Regions from separate parts of the Homo sapiens genome. Here all the other regions are linked to region 3. The links are contacts of gene promoters, found by promoter capture Hi-C in blood cells and fetal thymus (Javierre and others, 2016). All regions are on one chromosome and are shown on one strand. Each heading gives the region's core, a stretch centred on a gene start or on the middle of the fragment in contact. The rest is flanking DNA. Distances are from core to core; before and after follow the strand shown. Region 1 overlaps LPIN2 (lipin 2). Region 2 overlaps LPIN2 (lipin 2). Region 3 holds the start of METTL4 (methyltransferase 4, N6-adenosine). Region 4 overlaps LPIN2 (lipin 2). Region 5 holds the start of LOC124904236 (a long non-coding RNA gene).

What was found. Contacts are between HindIII fragments. The CHiCAGO score rates a contact against its expected background, and 5 or more counts as called.
Region 1: a contact is called between a fragment that was not itself captured here and the fragment with the promoter of METTL4 in region 3, in 3 of 17 cell types (total CD8 T cells, activated CD4 T cells and naive CD4 T cells). The highest score is 6.8, in total CD8 T cells.
Region 2: a fragment that was not itself captured here is called in contact with the fragment with the promoter of METTL4 in region 3 in 2 of 17 cell types (neutrophils and total CD8 T cells); the score reaches 6.2 in neutrophils.
Region 4: a contact is called between a fragment that was not itself captured here and the fragment with the promoter of METTL4 in region 3, in 1 of 17 cell types (naive CD4 T cells). The highest score is 5.5, in naive CD4 T cells.
Region 5: a contact is called between a fragment that was not itself captured here and the fragment with the promoter of METTL4 in region 3, in 5 of 17 cell types (naive CD8 T cells, naive CD4 T cells, non-activated CD4 T cells and 2 more). The highest score is 6.8, in naive CD8 T cells.

Annotation. Positions count from the first base shown.
Region 1 is chr18:2,951,556-2,955,422 of GRCh38, reverse strand. It overlaps LPIN2 (lipin 2), which reads left to right. Exons shown (of 20, transcript NM_001375808.2): 3 at 824-919. Among named protein-coding and RNA genes, the nearest start is that of LPIN2-AS2, 14 kb to the left of the region's middle. The HindIII fragment of the contact is 871 bases long and covers 1,046-1,916 here.
Region 2 is chr18:2,996,748-3,000,493 of GRCh38, reverse strand. The region is part of intron 1 of LPIN2 (lipin 2); the gene reads left to right. Among named protein-coding and RNA genes, the nearest start is that of LPIN2, 15 kb to the left of the region's middle. RefSeq lists enhancers at 626-1,548, 1,663-1,762, 2,030-2,179, 2,250-2,349. The HindIII fragment of the contact is 6,417 bases long and covers 1-3,746 here.
Region 3 is chr18:2,568,912-2,573,009 of GRCh38, reverse strand. It overlaps METTL4 (methyltransferase 4, N6-adenosine), which reads left to right and starts at 1,505. Exons shown (of 9, transcript NM_022840.5): 1 at 1,505-1,861. NDC80 (NDC80 kinetochore complex component) reads right to left here and starts at 1,453. Exons shown (of 17, transcript NM_006101.3): 1 at 1,327-1,453; 2 at 1-33. The coding sequence starts at 24. It also overlaps the pseudogene LOC100128926. RefSeq lists enhancers at 1,448-1,607, 1,490-2,412. The HindIII fragment of the contact is 2,186 bases long and covers 1-1,751 here.
Region 4 is chr18:2,927,139-2,931,284 of GRCh38, reverse strand. LPIN2 (lipin 2) reads left to right here. Exons shown (of 20, transcript NM_001375808.2): 9 at 1-29; 10 at 2,127-2,220; 11 at 2,625-2,694; 12 at 3,474-3,563. Among named protein-coding and RNA genes, the nearest start is that of LPIN2-AS2, 38 kb to the left of the region's middle. The HindIII fragment of the contact is 686 bases long and covers 2,376-3,061 here.
Region 5 is chr18:2,977,839-2,981,448 of GRCh38, reverse strand. All of the region lies in intron 1 of LPIN2 (lipin 2), which reads left to right. It overlaps LOC124904236 (a long non-coding RNA gene), which reads right to left and starts at 3,094. Exons shown (of 2, transcript XR_007066268.1): 1 at 2,479-3,094. The HindIII fragment of the contact is 4,754 bases long and covers 1-3,610 here.

The sequences.
Region 1 (3,867 bases), core at 232-2,731, 380 kb before region 3:
GTTTTAAAAGTGTGTGGCACCTTTGTGTGGCACCCCCAGTCTCTTGCACCTGCTCTCACTATGTGACGTGTCTGCCCCCACTTCGCCTTTCACCGTGAGTAAAGGTTTCCTGAGTCCTCCCCAGAAACCAAGCAGATGCCAACGCCGTGCTTGTACAGCCTGCAGAACCATGAGCCAGTTAAACCTCTTTTCTTTATAAATTGCCCAGCCTTGTGTATTTCTTTATAGCAAACACAAAAATGGCCCAACGCATATGTCTACCTGAATTTTTTTTTGACATGATATTACTTATCCCATCGTTTCACCTGGTTCTTGGGAAAATGGAACCGCCATCATCAGTGACCAATCACAGCACTGATTGTCACCTGTTACTTACGTAGTGATCTGTGGGCAGAAGAGCTGTCGGTGAAGTTGTACTTGATGCAGTTGCTCACAGCTCACATACTGAGGTTCCTGAAACTTGTGTGTATCTGAACCGTGTGAGGTGAGGCCTGCCTGTGCCATAACTTGGAAAGTGTGCAAATGTTTGACAATAATATTTCCCCCATTTTAAATTTGAAAAATAATTTTAAAATTTTTATATGTTGTAAAAATAGATGGTGAAACACTTTCTTTCAATTCCTGGTTGTCCATCTCTCCCTCTGCCAGCTCCATTTGGCTTCTTAGGGGTTGGGTAGGGGCAAGTAGCAGTGTTTCTCAGAGGCTGTAGTTCTAGGAACCTCAAAACTATGCTAAGTTTGACTTGAGAACTCAGAGTTCTGGTTTAGTTTAACTTGAAGGAAAGACTCCTTGAACATTAAGTCATACTTTGTTTCTCCCATAGATTGATATAGAAATCAACGGCAGTGCAGTGGATCTTCACATGAAGTTGGGTGATAACGGAGAAGCTTTCTTTGTTGAGGAGACTGAAGAAGAATATGTAAGTTTGCATGGGTTACACCCTCCTTACACAGTGTGCTCAGGCCTCTGGTACGTGGCCCAGACGGACCGTTTAGCAGTTTTTTATGGTTGATTGTACAGAGGACTGTTGTTGGCAAGACAAGCTTTAGTTTCATGTTGAAGAACTAAGCTGTCAAAAAGGAACTGAAGGGATGAGGAATTTTTCTCCATACAAAGTTTCAGGGTGCAGGGAGCATGCTGAATGCACATACTTGCACTTTTTCTAAGGGAAGGCACATCACTTTCTAGCTTTAATGAGCTTTCTTACTTAGTGTTGCTTCTGGTTCACATATTGACTTGAATACATTCAGTTCTGCCTGAGTAGGGCATTTCTCTTCTGGCTATGTGTTTATCCACATGTGCCCTTTGGACTGGGACTCATGTTTACCATTTTGGTTGGGATATTACATCCCTCACCTTGAGTAGTCAGGTGAATTAATTTATTATGATCTCAAGAGAGTTAAATTAATTGGCCTATATCCTTTTATAAGTGATTACATGTTTGACTTCTTCTAGCAAACGAGCATGATTTGTTAAAATCCCCCCTCCCCAGCACACACATTCTGTATGTACTGATTTGAACGCTAGTTAACGACGGATTCTTGATGGATTCAATGTGGATCTTTTTATTTATTTATTTATTAATAATAGATTTTACATTCTCACTAAAGAACTCAGATCACGTAATGTGCATCTTTTTAAAAATTCTTTCAAAGGCATCAGTACATCATTCTTCATAAAGAATAAAGTCTCAAATAGCAAAACTGATAAGCATCAAGTTATTAAGGATACAGGACTACTTTTTTGGCTTTGAAGATGAACTTACAGTTTGATACAATAAATTTACAAAGAAAATTATTACCAAAAAATACGATAGCAAAATGAGATTGTTTATCATTTTTTGATTGAGAAACCAACAACTTAGGTACCAGTAGGTAAAGCAGCATTGAAACACTATGATTTATGAAGGGGAAGCTTGATCAGACTGGTGCTTTTTCTAGTTTCTTCATTACTTATCTTTGTAATACCTTGTTTGCATTTACTTGGCCTAAGCAACATTTTTCCTTATCAGAGACAGAGGCAAAGAGCAGAATGAAACATAATAAATGACATCTGTCAAAAAAAAAAACCACTTTTTGTATGTTTCTTAAAATTATTTATAATTCATAACACTGAACTTCTAGATCAGCAGGCACCGTAAGCGAGAGGACTGGGTTATTGATGTTAACCTCGTTTTCATGGCTTATTCTGACAGTTCCGCTAAAAATTATGCTCAGCAAGGACAACTTGGAAAATGTCAACTTTCCAGCCTTTTTCTCCCTATTCCACATATGACTACATTGACCAGAGTTTATCTTGTGTAGTATGCTTCTCCTTAAAATAAAAAATTGTTAATTTATCCAACAAATGTTGGAATTACTACTCTATGCCACATGCTATGAATACAACATGCCTCTGTTCCTCTAGGGGTTCGTCATTTAGAGTAGGATAAAGATGACCAAAAACCCAGTTTGTTGCCATTTATTTGATTTTTTTCTCTCAGATTTTTCTCATTTAATTATATGTCATCAACATTCTTTTCAAGTCTAGTTCTAAACCTAACTCTGTGCTTTTAATAGCTGCACAGTATTCCATAGTATGGACATACCATAGTTTGTTTAACCATTTTCTTGCTGGTAGGCGTTCAGGTTATCTTCATCCTACAAACATTGCTATAATAGAACTAAGAAATACCACCAGAAACAAAAAGAGCTTTCAGTAAGTAAAATAAAGATCATTGAATTAAAAATCCTCAAAGTCAGAGACCACGACCTCTCATCTGGGTTTCTTTTGGACATTCAGAATATCTTATTACAATTTCTCTGTAAGTGTGTGTTTCTGGTGAACACAGATTTCTCCTAGCTAAATCAAACTTTAGCTTCAGGGTAATATGTTTATCAAAGCTAAGTTCAAAAGCTTAATAAAAAAATAATTACAGAAACCTATACATTTTCAGAACTATTGTTTAAAAGCTTGAGTATTTTAAATTATATGAGGTTAATTTTTTTGTTGTTTGTTTTGAGATGGAGTCTCGCTCTGTTGCCCAGGCTGGAGTGCAGTGGCATGATCTCGGCTCACTACAACCTCCCCCTCAGGTCCAAGCAATTCTTCTGCCTCAGCCTCCTGAGTAGCTGGGATTACAGGCATGCATCACCAGGCCCAGCTAATTTTGTATTTTTAGTAGAGACAGGGTTTCACCATGTTAGCCAGGCTGGTCTCAAACTCCTGACCTCAGGTGATCCGCCTGCCTCTGCCTCCCAAAGTGCTGGGATTGCAGGCGTGAGCCACCACGTTCTGCCTGAAGTTAATTTTTATCTCTATTATGTACCTTCCATTTCCTCTGATGATACAAAAAGGAATGAAACAAATGGCTAAGACATGAATTTACTGAACACCAGACTTGATCGTTTATTTAGTATTAGGAGTTTGACTGCTTCTAAATATTGGGCCTTATTTTCTTCTTTTGAATTCCTACAGGAAGGAATATTTCTTATTTTTAAACATAAATGCTTTATGGTTTAAAAATTTACTAATGTCATTTGTTACACGGTATTGTCTCTAATTGCCTTTCTCCAATTAATTTGGCAAAACATAAGCATTGGCCGCTCTGTATCACTGCATCCTCGCGTCACTCACCTGTCCTGCTGCCCTTTGTCTGATGTAGTGTCCTTAATCTCTGCCTTCTGCTTTTTCCTGTTCTGAATGTTCTGTGTGAGTTCTTGAGAGAGTCCTTTGTAACACCTCCTGAGATTTTTGTTGCTGCTTTGATCTTTGCTTTGTGAAGAATTTAATAGGCTTAGCTTTAATTATGGCTTTGGGGTGTTCCATGCTGACTTGGCATGTCAGTTCCTTCAGATGGACTCAGTTACATGTACCCAAGTGGGCTGG
Region 2 (3,746 bases), core at 75-2,574, 430 kb before region 3:
CCTTTAACGTTGTCTATTATTAGCATGTTTCTGTCGTGACTGCCATAGGTGGAGCCCACAACAGTGCAGGTGTTTCTTTATCCTTTGAGCTGGGCACCTGGTGGGAACTTTCAATTTGGAAAATCATGTTTCTGACGCCAGGAAATTTCTTGTATGATTTATTTGATAATATCCAACTCCTGCCTTTCCCTACCTTTTTTTCCTCTCCTGTTTCTGTACTTTAAAAAGTCTACAAGTCAGATATTGGGGCCATTTTGGATTGATGCTCTGATATTCATCTTTTTCCTCCTTTTGCCCATTCCTTTATCCTTGTTGGATTTACTGGGAGATCTGCTTTCTACATTTTCTCCTTCTCCTCCTCCTCCTCCTCCTCCTTCTTCCCCTCCTTCCCCTCTTTCCCCTCTTCCTCCTTCTCCTCTTCCTCCTCCTCCTCCTCTTCTTCTTTTTAAAAGAAAAAAAAAAACAAAACAGAGATAGGGTCTCACTAATGTTGCCCAAGTTGGTCTTGAACTTCCAGCCTTAAGTGATCCTCCCACCTCAGCCTCCTGAAGTGCTGGGATTACAGGTGAGACCCACCGTGCCTGGCTATTTTTTAATTTTTGTAGAGACAGGGTCTTGCTGTGTTTCCCAGGCTGGTATTTATTCTCCAACCCTTCTATAGAATGTCTTAATTTTACAATTGTGTGTTAATTTCCAAGAGCGCTTTCTCATTCTTGGATGTTTATTTTTATTAGCGTCCTCTCCTAGCTGCTGGTGGGTTGCTGGCAGCCTTTGGCGTTCCTTGGCTTGCAGATGCATCACCCCAATCTCTGCCTTTATATTCACATGGCGTTCTTCTGTGTGCATGTCTGTCTCTCTGTCCAGATTTCCTCTTTTTTTTTTTTCTTTTTGAGACGGAGTTTCTCTCTGTCACCCAGGCTGGAGTGCAGTGGCGTGATCTTGGCTCACTGCAAGCTCCGCCTCCCGGGCCATGCCATTCTCCTGCCTCAGCCTCCTGAGTAGCTGGGACTACAGGCGCCTGCAACCGCGCCCGGCTAATTTTTTTTTTTTTTTGTATTTTTAGTAGAGACGGGGTTTCACCATGTTAGCCAGAATGGTCTCGATCTCCTGACCTCGTGATCCGCCCGCTTTGGCCTCCCAGAGTGCTGGGATTACAGGCGTGGGCCACGGCGCCTGGACCAGATTTCCTCTTTTTATAAGGACATCAGTCCTACTGGATTAGGGCCAGCCTTAATGACCTCGTTTTAACTTGAATACCTCTGTAAAGATCCCCTTTCCAAATAAGGTCACATTCTGAGCTACCAGAGGTTAGGAGTTCAGCGTTTCTTTTTTGGAGGATATACTTCAACCCAAACAGTGGGTTTTGAGAGTGGGGATAACACATGTGACATCCTCTGGGTTTAACAGGATGTCTAGTTAGAGCAATATTTTTAAAGATGCTTTTAGTTACACCTATCTTCACTAATGATCAGAAAGAAACTCTTAGGAAGTAATTTTTAGATTACAACTGGAGATTTTTGTTCAGACTTGTGACTGCCAAAATTTCTGCATGTTCCTGAATGTTTAATGACAGTATCTGAGTTGTCTCATTTTCACTCTTGGTTTGTTTCTAAAGTCATTTGAAGGTTGGCAAAATGACTAAAGAAAGAACAGCAGTAGTGTCTTATGAGAAAGTAAACCGTATCTATATCCTGGCATAGTTTCGTGAACATGTTAGCCAGGTTCTCATCATGCTCTGTCCCTCCATGTTATACTCTATTTCTTTTTTCAGATATGAGCCTTCTTGGAGCTTTGTTGCTTAAAAAAAAATCTGTCATGTATTTTCCTGTTCTGGGCTCTACAACGCTTTTCTTTCCTTAAAAGTGGCTCTTCCTGCTCTTCCTCCCTCTCTTCAGGGAGCAGCACCCTCTTTTATTTCCTTTATAATAGTTGTCCCAGCCTAACATATGTTGTTGTTGTTGTTTTCTCCCTCCCCACATTAGAATATAACCACTACAAGGGCAGGTACCTTGTCAGCCAAGTTCACTGCTTGATCCCCAGCTCTCAGAATAGAATAGACACTGCTGTTGAGCAGATCAGTGAGTGAAAGAGGCCTTGTTTTCTGACTTTCAAGTGCTGTTTCGCTGACTTGCTGTTGCTCTTGGAAGTCCTTCTCTCTTGTTGAAGTAGCTTAGTATGCAAGTCAGCTTGTGATAACACACTGGTGCAGCCTTACTTGGCATTTGTTTTGCAAAACTACTTAAAAATAGCCTAAATCTGAGTGATTGGTGGCATTGATTGCAGCAGTGCTGTTGGTATGGCCACAGCCTTTCCCTTTACCCAAGTGTCCTCCCAGAGCCAGGAAAGGGAGGTACCTCTCCTTACGTTTCTGAAGATTCCATTGTGGTCCCAGTGGGCACCATGCAGAATTTAATAAAGCAGGGCATGAAACTTGAGCTGTGTTTTGATTGACATTGGGAAAGACTCCTCTGCAGAACACAGGCACAGGGTGCCTGGAGCTGCCTGGCACTGGAAACTCTGCCTCACGGTCACCATGTTCTGTTTAACTGAGACAAGGAGACACTTCAGGCACTTCCAAAGGAAACAGTAGGGAAGTAGTGAATTCATGCTTACCGATCTAGCAGACTTCCCTCTGGGAAGCTGGGGGACTGCATCCTTGAGAGCTAAAAGCAAGAAATTGGAGATGTTTGAAAAACTAAGTCTGTGGCATGGGGGGTAAGGAATCCTCCTGCTACTTCTGTGACATCAGCTAAGTAAGCTGATGAATTGGTGACTTTTTGTTTCTTTTTGAGTTATACTGCTTTTAGTAATTATGGAAGAGCCTGCTCTCCCCCCACAGGAGTCATTAAACAATGATTGATGCCATATGTAAGGTTTGTGAATTGTTTATGCAGCAGAAGTCACCTTTTGATCAGAATTGGGGCACTGTCTTGGTTTCATTGTGGCACACTGCAGAGTTATAGGCATAGTGGCCTGGTACTCTGATGATGTCTTGAAAGTGACTGCTATAGCTTTGACTTCATTAATGTTCCTTTGAATTTGTTATGTTTAGAAAAATACAAGCCTCTGCCAGGTGCAGTGGCTCATGCTTGTAATCCCAGCACTTTGGGAGGCTGAGGAGGGTGGATCACATGAGGTCAGGAGTTCAAGACCAGCCTGGCCAACAGAGTAAAACCCCATCTCTACTAAAAAAAAACAAAAAACAAAAATGAGTCCAGGCACAGTGGCTCAAGCCTGTAATCCCAGTACTTTGGGACACCAAGGCCGGCGGATCACCTGAGGTCAGGAGTTTGAGACCAGCCTAGCCAACATGGCAAAACCCCGTTTCTACTAAAAATACAAAAATTAGCCAGGCGTGGGGGTGGGTACCTGTAATCCTAGCTACTCGGGAGGCTGAAGCAGGAGAATTGCTTGAATCCGGGAGGTGGAGGTTGCAATGAGCCGAGATCACGCCACCGCACTCCAGCCTGGGTGAGGGAGTGAGACTCTGTCTCAAAAGAAAAAGAAAAATACAAGCCTCCAAAAATGAAATGTACATATTTATGATGTGTTGATTCTGGCACCTCTTATGCAGAAGTTTACCATTAGCAAATATAGCAAACTTGGTGCCATTGGCAAGGCCTTTGTAGAACCAAATGATGCTTTATTTGGAGATGGTGGGATGTGGGTCTGTTATTCTGGGATATATATGATACTCAATAGATAGATAAAGATATTGGTCGAGCGTGGTGGCTCACGCCTGTAAT
Region 3 (4,098 bases), core at 256-2,755:
GCTGGAAACTGAACTGCGCTTCATGCTTATGACCTACATTCACGAATTCAGTATTTAAAAAAAACTTTCCAGACAGAGATGGTACATTAAGCAACTATTTATCCTTAAACAGAAAGACAGTCAGGTTTCATTGTTTCTTCAAGATCATCATCTTTCCCCTGGGGTATCTCTTTTTTGTTCATGTACACTGAAGTTCTCATTTGCAAGGAACATCTATTTAATTCCATTTAAAAATATTCAACATAAACATTTATTAACTGCCCACTATATATATAGGGGAGTGTGCTAGGCAATGCAGGAGATGCAAAGACGAGTAAGTTACGGTTTTTGCCTTCACAAGGGTATCCGTGGTAGCTAAAGCCCTGTCTGTTACCCAGACCACATTACTGCTGTTGGCTGTGCCTATTTCAATAGGAAGACAAAAAAATTACCTCAAATTCTCTTATTCACCTCAAAATGTTTCCTTTTCTTTGGTTTCAGAGAATGGAATTATTCTGTTTTCCTAATGTCAATCTCTCCTGCTCTGTCCTTAACCCATTGTTTCCTCAATTACTGCCCTTTTGGCATCAATCTCCCCTTCAACAAGGATAAATCATCCGGTCCATAAAATGGTCTATAGGCTGCCTCCATTTACAAACCACATTAACAGGTCACTCCCTTCACATCTGCTAAAAAATTTGTCTCCTAGGATACACATGATTGACAAAACTTTTGATCCTGTCTCATCTCTGCACCCAGCCTTCTCAGGTCCTGCCCTGGCTTTCAGGAAGGTGACAATCCTTTTACTTCTCTGGGTACTCCTTAGTCTTTTACACTGATTAGACTCTTCTTGATTTTGGCCGCCTATTTCCTCTTCAATATGCGCTTGTTCATCTATTCAACTTTTCCACTCACACCTGTGTGTCCACGTTTAATCTCCACTTAGAATGTAGCTCTCATGATTTAAGATGAAGACTTCTACACGCAGTCCTACACGGCCATAAGAAGCTACACTAGTATTCAGACGCAACCCACCCAACGAGTCCTCTCTTGTCCATCTCTTTCCGCCCCCTTCAATTCTTCCCCGTTTCCTCTCCCGAGCCTCCACTCCTCATCAGTGTCCCCCAGGCCCTCCCCTTTCCTCCTTGGGAAATCGTTGCCACTAGAAATTTAATAGATCCCGTGAAACCAGCGCCTCGCACAGTTTTGGCCTCGAGGCTTCTCCCAACAGCAAACAAACACCAAAACATCGCCTCAGGACCTCTAAATTTAAGTCATTGGCGCCATCACTTTCTTCCTCCAGAACAGCTCTGCAGAAACAAAGTTAATCCGATGTCATTCAGTCACCTTTTTTCCAGTTTCCTGACACGACCCAGGGACCGAATTTCTGTAAACCGTGCAAGTATCTGCTAGACAGGACAGCGGTCATCAAAACACCAGGTCCTTCCTCGGCCCGCCAAAGCCGTTCGAATTTGAAATTCTCCGCCGGCGCTGACGTCATTACGCACGACGCGCGCAGTAACTTCCATGCGACCGCCTCGTCGCTGGAAGGCTGCGTGCTGGTCGCGCCCAGCTGCGTCACCCCAGGAACTGGGGTCTGTGGGCCAGTGTGGCCGTCTCTACGAAGACTGGCACGACCCCTAAAGTTAGGTCGGAAGACCTGTGGGCAGCTTGAGCGCCGAGGAGTGCCCTGAACGCTCAACTCGCCCTGGAAACGTTTTTCCGTACAGCAACATGGCGGCGCCCATGGACTCTTAGAAAAGGAGAAAGCTTTTTCTCTGTGGACTGGAAGGGGCATTTTTCATGATCACTATTTAGATGGGTGCTGTTTTCATGAGGAGAGTCTGGGAAGGCGGCGTCCGCTTTTCTGACAAGGGAAGAGGTGAGGTGGGAGAGGGGCTGCGGAGTGGGTGGAATGGGCTCCCAGGATTGCGTTGGTACGGCTGCCGAAATTCGGGCTCAGTATTTGATCACTTGCCGGAGGCTCACGGTCCTCTGGTGGTGGCTGACCTGTGAGAGGCTAGGAAGAATCCAAGTGTTTGGGGGCGGGCGGCGAGGGAGTGGATGTGAAGCAGAGACGCAGGAGAGGGGTGCACTAACAACAGTAACAGTAGATCACTTTGCTAAAATAGGATTTCCTCGCTGCTGTGAGTTTGAATCCAGAAACAGGCACTGCCCGGTACCTGGAGAGTGGTGGTGATGAAAGATCTCACAGCTCCAGGAAGTCTGGATACTTGGGTCTGGTAGCAATTGTGCCATTAACTAGCGTTGTTATTTTTGGGCAGCTTGCCTTTCTGCTCTGAGTTTCAATTTTCCCGTCTGAATTTCTAGCTCTCACTAGCCATTCCAGGACCCTTTTCACCTCAGCTGTGGCCTATGAAGGGGATGGGGAGGAACCAAGGATTATATTAATATAAAAATTATATGAAAATTAGGCAACCGTCTGATAATAAAAAGTCTCCTTGTGGAATACTGTTAGGTTAAACTTTACCTACAGATTGTTAAATCCTTAGCACTAATGTTTTCCCCAGAAAAGATTAATGGAAACATCATTTGCTTTTCTGACTAGATAGTTGCTGCTTCCAAAGGTGGTTTTACACAAATACAAAATTAAAAACACCTTTAGTACAGAAATAATTGCTTGTATTTCGGTATACATTCACAGTACAGTTCAGCATTTAGTGGTCCTGCTAGCAATTTGCCAGGAAGTCAAGCCTGCCAATTTCCTGATATTCCTGCTGTGCACCCCAACTTCTTAATCCCTGCTGAGGATCTTGAGAAGCAGCAGCACCAAAACCAAAGTAGGCACCAAATTCAAGGTTCTTTTGGTTCCGGTTGTCACATTTCAAGCTAGACTCCAATAGATGGAAGGATGATCACATGTGAGCCCTGTTTAAAACTTCAATTTTTAAGAGCAAGCACAATTGCAGGAAAAGAAAACAATTCAGAGGGATCATGTGTGCTTACAGTTGTCTTCATGTGGCCTTTTCCCAGGTTTAACCACCAAGGACCCTGACAGCCGGGGTGTCTGAATAACCCTGGTGACTCTTTTCACCATATCAAAACCTGAGTTAAAAGGCTGATGATAACAGCAGAAGGTGGCAGGGCTGAGGACCCACTATTAATTTCCTAGGCTGGTGGAGAGTGAATAAATGTTCTTCCAACCTTACCTTATGGCTTCTGGTCAAAGCAAAGAAGTGTCGTGGAAAGTGTTGGGTGGTGACAGTGCAAAAAGAGACTTGACGGGGAGGGAGCAGCATCTCTTGATAAAGGTGGGGAAGAGAAGATATGGGGAAAGCCCTGAATTCCTCATGGAAGGCGAATCTCAGAGGGGAGCGGAGCAGAGGGCTTATGATCTGTGCTTTGGCCAAGGGTGGGAGTGGAAGAGGTGGGGACAGGACAGTGGTTTGGAAGGAGCATCACTGAATACTTAAACTGAGTGCCCACACACTCAGCAGTGGTCCCACAGGCTGTGATCTTCACGTCTACTCTAACAAGCCTCCCAGGCTAGAGGGCTGTTGCAGTGGGTGGGGGTGGGAGGAAGGGAGAGCGGTAGGGGGAGAAGGCGGAGACTCCAGGCCATGTAAGGAGAAGCAAGGTGATTGTGTGGTCTTTCCACAGTTGAATTAGATGTACCCCACCAGTTATGATGGGAATCAATTTAAATATACTTGCTTGATCCTGTCGCTTGACAGGATGATTTGTTATAGCACAACTTACATAATTCAAATGGACAAAAAAGTTAGTATCATTCACAGTATCTTAAGATACATTTCTTTTGAATAGGAGCATCCTTTCTAGTACTGTGAGGTCTACAAGATGTATCTAGAAAATTTACTACTGTTGAAAATGAAGACTGCTTAAATTGAATGGGTGTGGGGAAAAGGGACTATGGTTTTTCTTTTTGATTAATTACTGTAACAGTGTCTTTCAGGCTGCTGAGGGAGTTTCATGTTTTCTTTAGATGTCATTAGCTGTTCAACCTCTTCCAAGACAACTTTGATGCTATCTGAATTCTGCTATTTAGCTAGCACTGAAATGGCTCTTGAGTCCACCACTCCTTTAGAATAGCATTAATTTTTGTTACACATCTTACAAAGGGGAGTGCTGCTGGGTATT
Region 4 (4,146 bases), core at 1,469-3,968, 360 kb before region 3:
CCTCAGTGAAAATGGAGAAATTTCAAAAGGTACGTTGGGTGTTTGTGCCCCATCTTCATTTCAGAGAGCAATCTGGTCATCACTTGGTTAAAACTTACCGTGTAGCCATTTCAGGATATTTACATTCTTTAGGGATCTTGTGCAGGTAACAGGTATGTTCTGTAATGTCAGACCCTTATACCCTCACTTAAGGTCTTAATTGACACCTCTTTATGGAGTGGCTTTGAGGTAGTGTGCCCTTAAAGGCTCTAATTTCAAATTAAGAGGTTGGGAGTTATCAGGCCGCCCTGTTTTCTGAGCTGCCAGGGTGCGATCATCACACTGCACCAGTTTTCTCATCTGTAAAGTTACAGAAACATTTGTGGAACTGGGGCCCAGCTGCCCTTCTGGAAAGCACTGGGCCTTAGACATGAATATAGGGCCCTGAAGTTGTAGAAAATTGATTGTCCACTGAGTACGTGGTCTTTCTGGCAAAAATTAGGAGGATTACTTTCTGTATAAGGCTGGAGGGTTGGCCTACGAGAGTAAAGCTTGCTCAGGAATCAGGAGGGAGTTTAGCAGACATGTCAGGATGCCTATAGGCTGGGCTGAGTGCCATGTGCATCCGTCCTCAATTCATCAGCATTTTTTTTTAACCTTCCTTTTAAAACTGAACTCTTAGTATTTCTCAGTTTGGCCTGTGGCCCCTGTATGATTTTCTTCTAAGGGAAAATTTTCTTTCCGTGACTAGTGTCATCTTTTGTCTTCCCTCTCCCTTAGAGGAACTGAAGGTGTGATGTGGCAGACTGCATGGCCAGAGGCTCAGGACCATGTGTTCCTGAAGTCTTTCCTTTCCAGGGTCACAGGAAGCTCATTATGCCTCTTCCCTGTCTCTTCATTGTTTGTTTGCTTTATATTTTGCAAGAAATTTAAAGTGTGTTATGGCCAATGGTTCATTCTAGGGACTAAGTTAAATAGGTCACATTCTTTCTGTAATCCTCTTAAATGTTCAGTTTAAAAAATTATATGCGAGGGAATGCGAAATACAAAATGTAGGTAAAATATAAAAGTTACACCTTTGTTTTAAATATTGGTGACTTAGTCTAGTAGAGTTTATTGGAAGAGGCAGAAATGACAAGTAAATGTAAGTAATACACACATTACCTGGAGAAACAATCCAAGTGAGCAGTTTCTCTGTTAGCCTAGATCTAGGAGAATACAGGTTTAGGAACAGGGTACAAAAATTCATGGGAAGCCCTCATTCACTCTGCAAGAACTTGGGATTTATTTCACAGACCTTGAGCCAAATTCTAGGTTTTTTTGTTTTGCCTTGTTTTGTTTTTTTAATTCTCCAAGCAATTGTAACATGTAATTTTTGTTGTTGTTTTTATTATTTAAGACAGAGCCTTGCTCTGTCACCCAGGCTGGAGTGCAGTGGCACCATCTCAGCTCACTGCAACCTCCATCTCCTGGGTTCAAGTGATTGTCACGCCTGCCTCAGCCTCCCAAGTAGCTGGAATTACAGGTTGGCACCACCATACCCGCCTTATTTTTGTATTTTTAGTAGAGATGGGTTTTCACCGTATTGGCCAGGCTAGTCCCTAACTCCTGACCTCAAGTGATCGGCCCACATCGGCCTCCCAGAGTGTTGGAATTATAGGTGTGAGCCACTGTGCCTGGCCCAAACAATTTTAAGATATGTTTTGATATAATGTAGCTTGCTAAAGCTGTAAGACCCCTATGAATATTCCCCAGTTATGCCGTTGCCTGTCAGTAAAGTTTCTTCCTCTGAGAATAGAACTTCGACAGTTTTCGTGTGTGTGTGTCTGTCTGTCTTTCTGTGTCTGTCTTCCGTCCCTCTCTAGCCACATCTGTATGTATTTTTTTTGAAAGTCTCTGTCATGTCCCTTTTTACTAGTTTGTTTGTTTTCACTGGGAGACAGTGGAAAAGGAGAATAGAAAAGAAGTGTTCTTTCTTGTCCTGGGGAAAAAAAGCGTCTGACATTTTGCTTTTGATGAATATTCAAAAATTAGTTTTTTTAGACAGATGATTTTAGCCTTCAATTTCTGCAATGCAGAGAGTATTATAATCTCATATAGGGATTTATGTAATCTCTAACCAAATTGATTATTATTTTACATTGCAGAAAAATTCATGGAGCATATCATTACTTATCACGAATTTGCAGAAAACCCTGGACTTATAGACAATCCTAACCTTGTAATAAGGATATATAATCGGTAAATACTCCTGCTTTTATAATTGTTAAATACTCTTGCAGTTTTTTTACAAGTGCCATTTTTAACTGTTACTTATAAAAGTGTTCCTTCTTATAAAACTTGTCATCTCATATAAATTAGCCAGTGGGCAATGACTTTGAAGTGAAAGTAAAGCTTCAATTTTATTTTTAAAAGAAGCATTGAAATGTTACTCTGTTTGATAGATTTTACGGCTTCTCTGTTCAGAGAAGTTGTGCTTGAAGCGAAGGTTATTCATGTGACAAAAAATTCAGCTGATCATCTTTATTGAAAAGAATAAGCAATTTTATATGTCACTTCCCTCCTCCCTCCCTCCCTGATTCCCTCCCCTCTCTCTTGCTCACTTTCACTGTGTAATGGTTTTGCACAATTTTTGTTTCTCACAGTTACTATAACTGGGCTTTGGCAGCTCCCATGATCCTTAGCTTGCAAGTATTCCAGAAGAGCTTGCCTAAGGTGAGGCGATCCACCATCTGCTGCCTTTCCGAAAGCATCCGCAGTGTCTAGTACTTACACAAATCCATATGTGCATATTTCTGAACTGGGTACTATTCAAAGTTTTACTTGAGCTTAATATTTAATATAAAAGATCAAAGTCATATGTACCCACTAAAAATATCTCATGCCCAAACTCTGGGAAATTAGCAGGGCTGCCACTTCTTTATTTCATTTTTATTAGACATAAATACTAGTTTCTGATGGTCTGTAAAAGTTGAGAGATTTTACTAATCATAAGTTAAATATGGAATGAATGAAAAAAACTTTTTCTCCCATTAATATGGGAAGAAGCAGCAAGAAGAAGGTGATGTAGCCAAGAGAAGCTTGACATCAGTGTGGTTAGGGCAGATGGTGGCTAACATACCTGTTATATACAAACTCACAATTGGTTTTTAATCTGTCCCCCAAGAAGACATCATCAGCCTAGTTGGTCCTCTTAACTCATGAGAACCACATTTTCCAAAGATAGATAAATGAGATTTGCCCACCTGTCAGCCCCTAAGGTCCTACATAGCAGACCGCCTGGTCTCATGCCACAGAGCTGTGCTGCCATGAAAGCAGGACGGGGTCTGTCTCTCAGAGGTGTTAAAAACGCTAGAGGAATCTGGGAGGTGTGAAGAGAGCATCGGTCACGTTCTCACATTCCATAGTAAGGCCCCGTCCTTCAGGCTAGCATAGAAGGTAGGTGCTGTGTGGCCAGTAGATTGCCCAGACTAACCCAGGTTGGTTGTTTTCAGGCCACAGTTGAGTCCTGGGTGAAAGACAAGATGCCAAAGAAATCTGGTCGCTGGTGGTTTTGGCGAAAGAGAGAAAGCATGACCAAACAGGTAACAGACCTAGAGGTCATTGTTTCCGTGGGCTGAAAGAAATGAATCTTTCATTTATTCAAAAAACCTTTTTGTCAGGCACAGGAATTTGGACTGTATAGGGCTATTTTACCATATAGCAGTTTCCATTTTTGAGCACTTAGGACGTGCAGGTGTTGTCCCAAGTGGTCCTTTACTGTAGCTCAGCACTAGAGATGTTCGAGTTGCCATTTCACAGGTAAGGAAACTTGGGTGCTTCACGAAGTCACATAACTGGTGAGAGACGGAGCTGGGGCAAGACCTTGAGTCTGACTCCAGAGCCTGTGCTCTTTCTGCTTCACTGTATTACCTATCAGATAGGAGCAGAAGGTTATCGTCTGCCTGCATAGTTCCAGATGCAAATAACCAGAATCTGTTCCACCAGGTCTCCATAGAAATTCATCCAGAGAACCATACTAAACAAGCAGCAGAGCAAGTCTTTTTTTCCCCAACACCTTCTGAAAAAGAGGGTTCAGGGAGTTCTCACCTGTTTTTCAAATGTCAGAAGGGAAGTCTTGCCTGAACCAAGTTCATGTCCACGTCAGCAAGGGGGCTGCCTTTCAGT
Region 5 (3,610 bases), core at 598-3,097, 410 kb before region 3:
GGTGTTTGCTTAGGCTGCATTTTATTAACGGTCCCATTTTATGTTGCCGTTAGAACATTGAAGTCTAATGAGTCACCTCCCTGTCCCATGAGAAGCATGAGTTTTCTTAATGCTAACGTTTGGGATAAGGATCTGATATCTGCTTAGTAGCCTGTAATGATTATATAGGAGTTTGACTTTATAACCTGGGTGTGTGTGGTTAGAGGGAGAACCCTGGTTTTCAGGGTCCAGGCCTTCTGTGACCTGAACACTCCTTACAAATCACATCCTTTCTGGGCACCCCTTTTGTAAGGTGACAGTTTCAGTTTTGAAAGAGTCTTTCCTCATGGTTTTGTGATTTGGGAATATAAATGTATCATATCATGATTTGGAAAACCATGAGAAGATTTCTGTGCTTTGTTAGAAATTGGGAAATTTCAAAGACCATGTTTTCATATTTTTTGAAACAAGTGAAGACAATACCTTTATTTGCTAAGGAAAAAGCTAAATTATTTTATATTCAAATAACCTGAAGTCCCAGAATAATCTACTGGCCATATTTTCACCCCATTTAGGGCAGAATATACTACAGGAGTTCTTAGCCAAACTTGTAATCCTCAGAAATGCTTATAGAATTGGAGCTTTTCTGCAGTTTAGAGCTGGGGGGGGACTCTAGAGGTCACCTGACCATTCTTGTTAGAGAGAACCCCCGGCACAGAGCCCAGACCTCTTCTCCAGCGGAAGCGAGACTTGATCTTGAGTCTTCACATCCTCACCAGCTTCAGGGGACTCCAGGAAGCCCTGAGGGCAGTGTCCCTCAATTCTCATCTCTGTGAGCTATTTATCAAAGGACATGGGCACCTCTGGTTGATGCCAAAAAGCTCAACCAGATTTAATAACACAAACAGTGGTCAGAGGTGGCAAGTCACCCTGTAGGTGGGGCACATGATACGAGGCAGCGTGCATCATGCTAAGTTAGGAAACCTTAGTCCACCCAGGATTTGGGGTGGGGCTGAGGTTGGTGGTGGGGAACCATAACACGTTGTCATTACTGATTGCTGCCCAGATTCCTAGAACAACTGGAGGTGAACAAGTCTAAAACTAACTGTGTTCCTCCAGTCTAGCATGGCCAGTGTTCAAAAAAGTAATTATTTAATTGAGTGGAATTTTATTTCCTCATAGAAATAATGTTGCTATGCCTGTCTCATAATTAGCCAGAGAACTCAACCAGAGTTCTGAGTCCTAGAACAAGGGGGAAGAAGGGCTAATGCAAGAATTTCCTCTTTCTTTCTGGATAAGGGCCAAGTTTCGCTAAAATTTTTGAGACAAACATTTTCTGAGTTCCATTTTCAAGCCATGTTTTAGCTCCCACTCTCCATAGCTAGTAACTTTGGGCTTGAAAATGATACCTTTCCTCCCTCCTAACTCCCCTAAGTTTTAGGAGTGTTTGTGCTCTTGCCACTGAGCTGTGAATGGGTGATGGTTCCTTAAGCGCAGCAGAAGTAGCTGCATTGGAGGAAGAGGATTCTAGTAAACCTACAGGTGTGCTTTGGTAGGCTCACTAGCCAAGTGACAGTGTGCACTGAAATGAAAACTCTGAGGCCTGCTAAGAGGATATATTGAGGGACCATACAAGATTACTGGTTAGGCAGTTTGGGGGAGTAAATTCTCTGAAAGTCTTTGTTTTCAAAGCATGCTCGCCACAGATGAACTCAGGAATTTGGGGGGGAGTAGTTTTGGGACTGTGGACATGAATATGTTTCGGCTATTTGAAAATTATTTATTATTCATTTTTATATTTGTGCCCCCATCTGTTTTCAGTAAGGAAGGATTTAGAAGTAGTTTACAATTAAAACATACATGCACACAGACTGCCTCCACACACACTGTATATTGCATAGCTAAGCCTATTAATGTAGAGGAAACAAAATTGTCTTCATTTAGCAAATATTTATTGTACTACAACTGAGTCCAGTAGATGCATGTAAATCAATTTTTTTTTGTTTGCCTCCACTAATATGTCGGAATTTTTTGCTGCTCTGGGTTTATGAATAACACAGCTGGGCAGATATCCAGCAAATGGCTGTATGAATGCTACCATGTTGAGTTTGCCTGGATACTTGGTCCTGATTACATACTCAGCATACTCAGTGCGTTAGAGTGCCTGGTGAGCCCTGTTTTGTAGATGTGATCCAGGTGTAGTCTTCGTGCATTGGGAAAACACACCTTAGTTACATCACTGTGCCTTTAGGTGTCCCAAAAAGTGAGGCTGCTGGCCTGGCCTAGAGGAGATGGACACAACTCTGAAAGGATCTAAATAAAAATCTCAGTTGGGCATGGTGGCTCACACCTGTAATCCTGCACTTTGGGAGGCCCAGGCAGGTAGATCACTTGAGGCCAGGAAGTGAGGCAGGAAAGGAACAGGAACTACTACACCACCCTTCTTCAGCTCTGTTCACTGTCAAGAAAACAAGAGGGTTTGGGAGTCATTCCACCTACCTGTGGTCCTGAGGCACAGCTTGAGATGTGCTACATTCTGGGATCATTTGGAGGCTTTCAAAAGTACTTGCAGTAGAATCTGCAGATGGGGTGGCCTGATCATGAGGATTCCCCAAGCACCTCAGTGACTGCAACGTGCACCGGGGGTGAGAAGTGAGCCCCAAGGACGATGATGCCCACATCTGACTCATCACTGAGTGAATCCCTGTGGAGCTTTCAAAAGAAAATACAGATTTCCCAGACAGACTGAAGCAGAATTGAAGGCAGTAGTGGAGGCCAAGAATAACTGTTTTGTTTTGTTTTGAAAATGAAACTACAGACTTTATTCAGATTCTTCTTACTAATGTCCTTTTTCTGTTCCAGAGCCCAACCTTACCTTGAATTGTCCTGTCTCCTTAGTCTCTTCCAATCGTGACAGTTCTTTAGTCTTTGCTTCTCATGACCTTGATGTTTTGATGAGCACTGGTCAGATATTTTGTTGAATTTGTCTCTACTTCGGTTTGTCTGATGTTGTCTCATAATTAGATTGAGGTTGTGTGTTTTTGGTCAAAATACCTCAAAAGTCCTTTTCAGTGAGTCATACCAGGAGTCCCTGAGGTCAGTGTGTCTTAAGTTTTCCCGATCACTTGATTATGGTGGTGTCTTCCAGGTTTCTCTACTATAGAGTTAAAATTTTTTCCTTTTGTAATGAATGTGTATCTTGGGGAAAATACTTTGAGAATATCCAGACATCTTGTTTATCTTGTTTCTCCTTCAACTTTTTTTTTTATTTTTTATTTTTTAAAAGACAGAGTCTTGCTCTGTCGCCCAGGCTGGAGTGCAGTGGCGCAGTCTTGGCTCACTTCAGCCTCCGCCTCCTGACTTCAAGCAGTTCTCCTGCCTCAGCCTCCTGAGTAGCTGGGACTACAGGTGCCACCACTCCCGGCTTCTTTTTGTGTTTTTAGTAGAGATGGTTTCATCATGTTGATCAGGCTGGTCTTGAACTCTTGACCTCAGGTGATCCACCTTCCTTGGCCTCCCAAAGTGCTGGGATTACAGGTGTAAACCACCGAGCCCGGCCTCTCCTCAAACTTTGTCTTCTGTTTTTAACATCCATTGATGGATCTTGCCTTCCATAAATAATACTGTGATA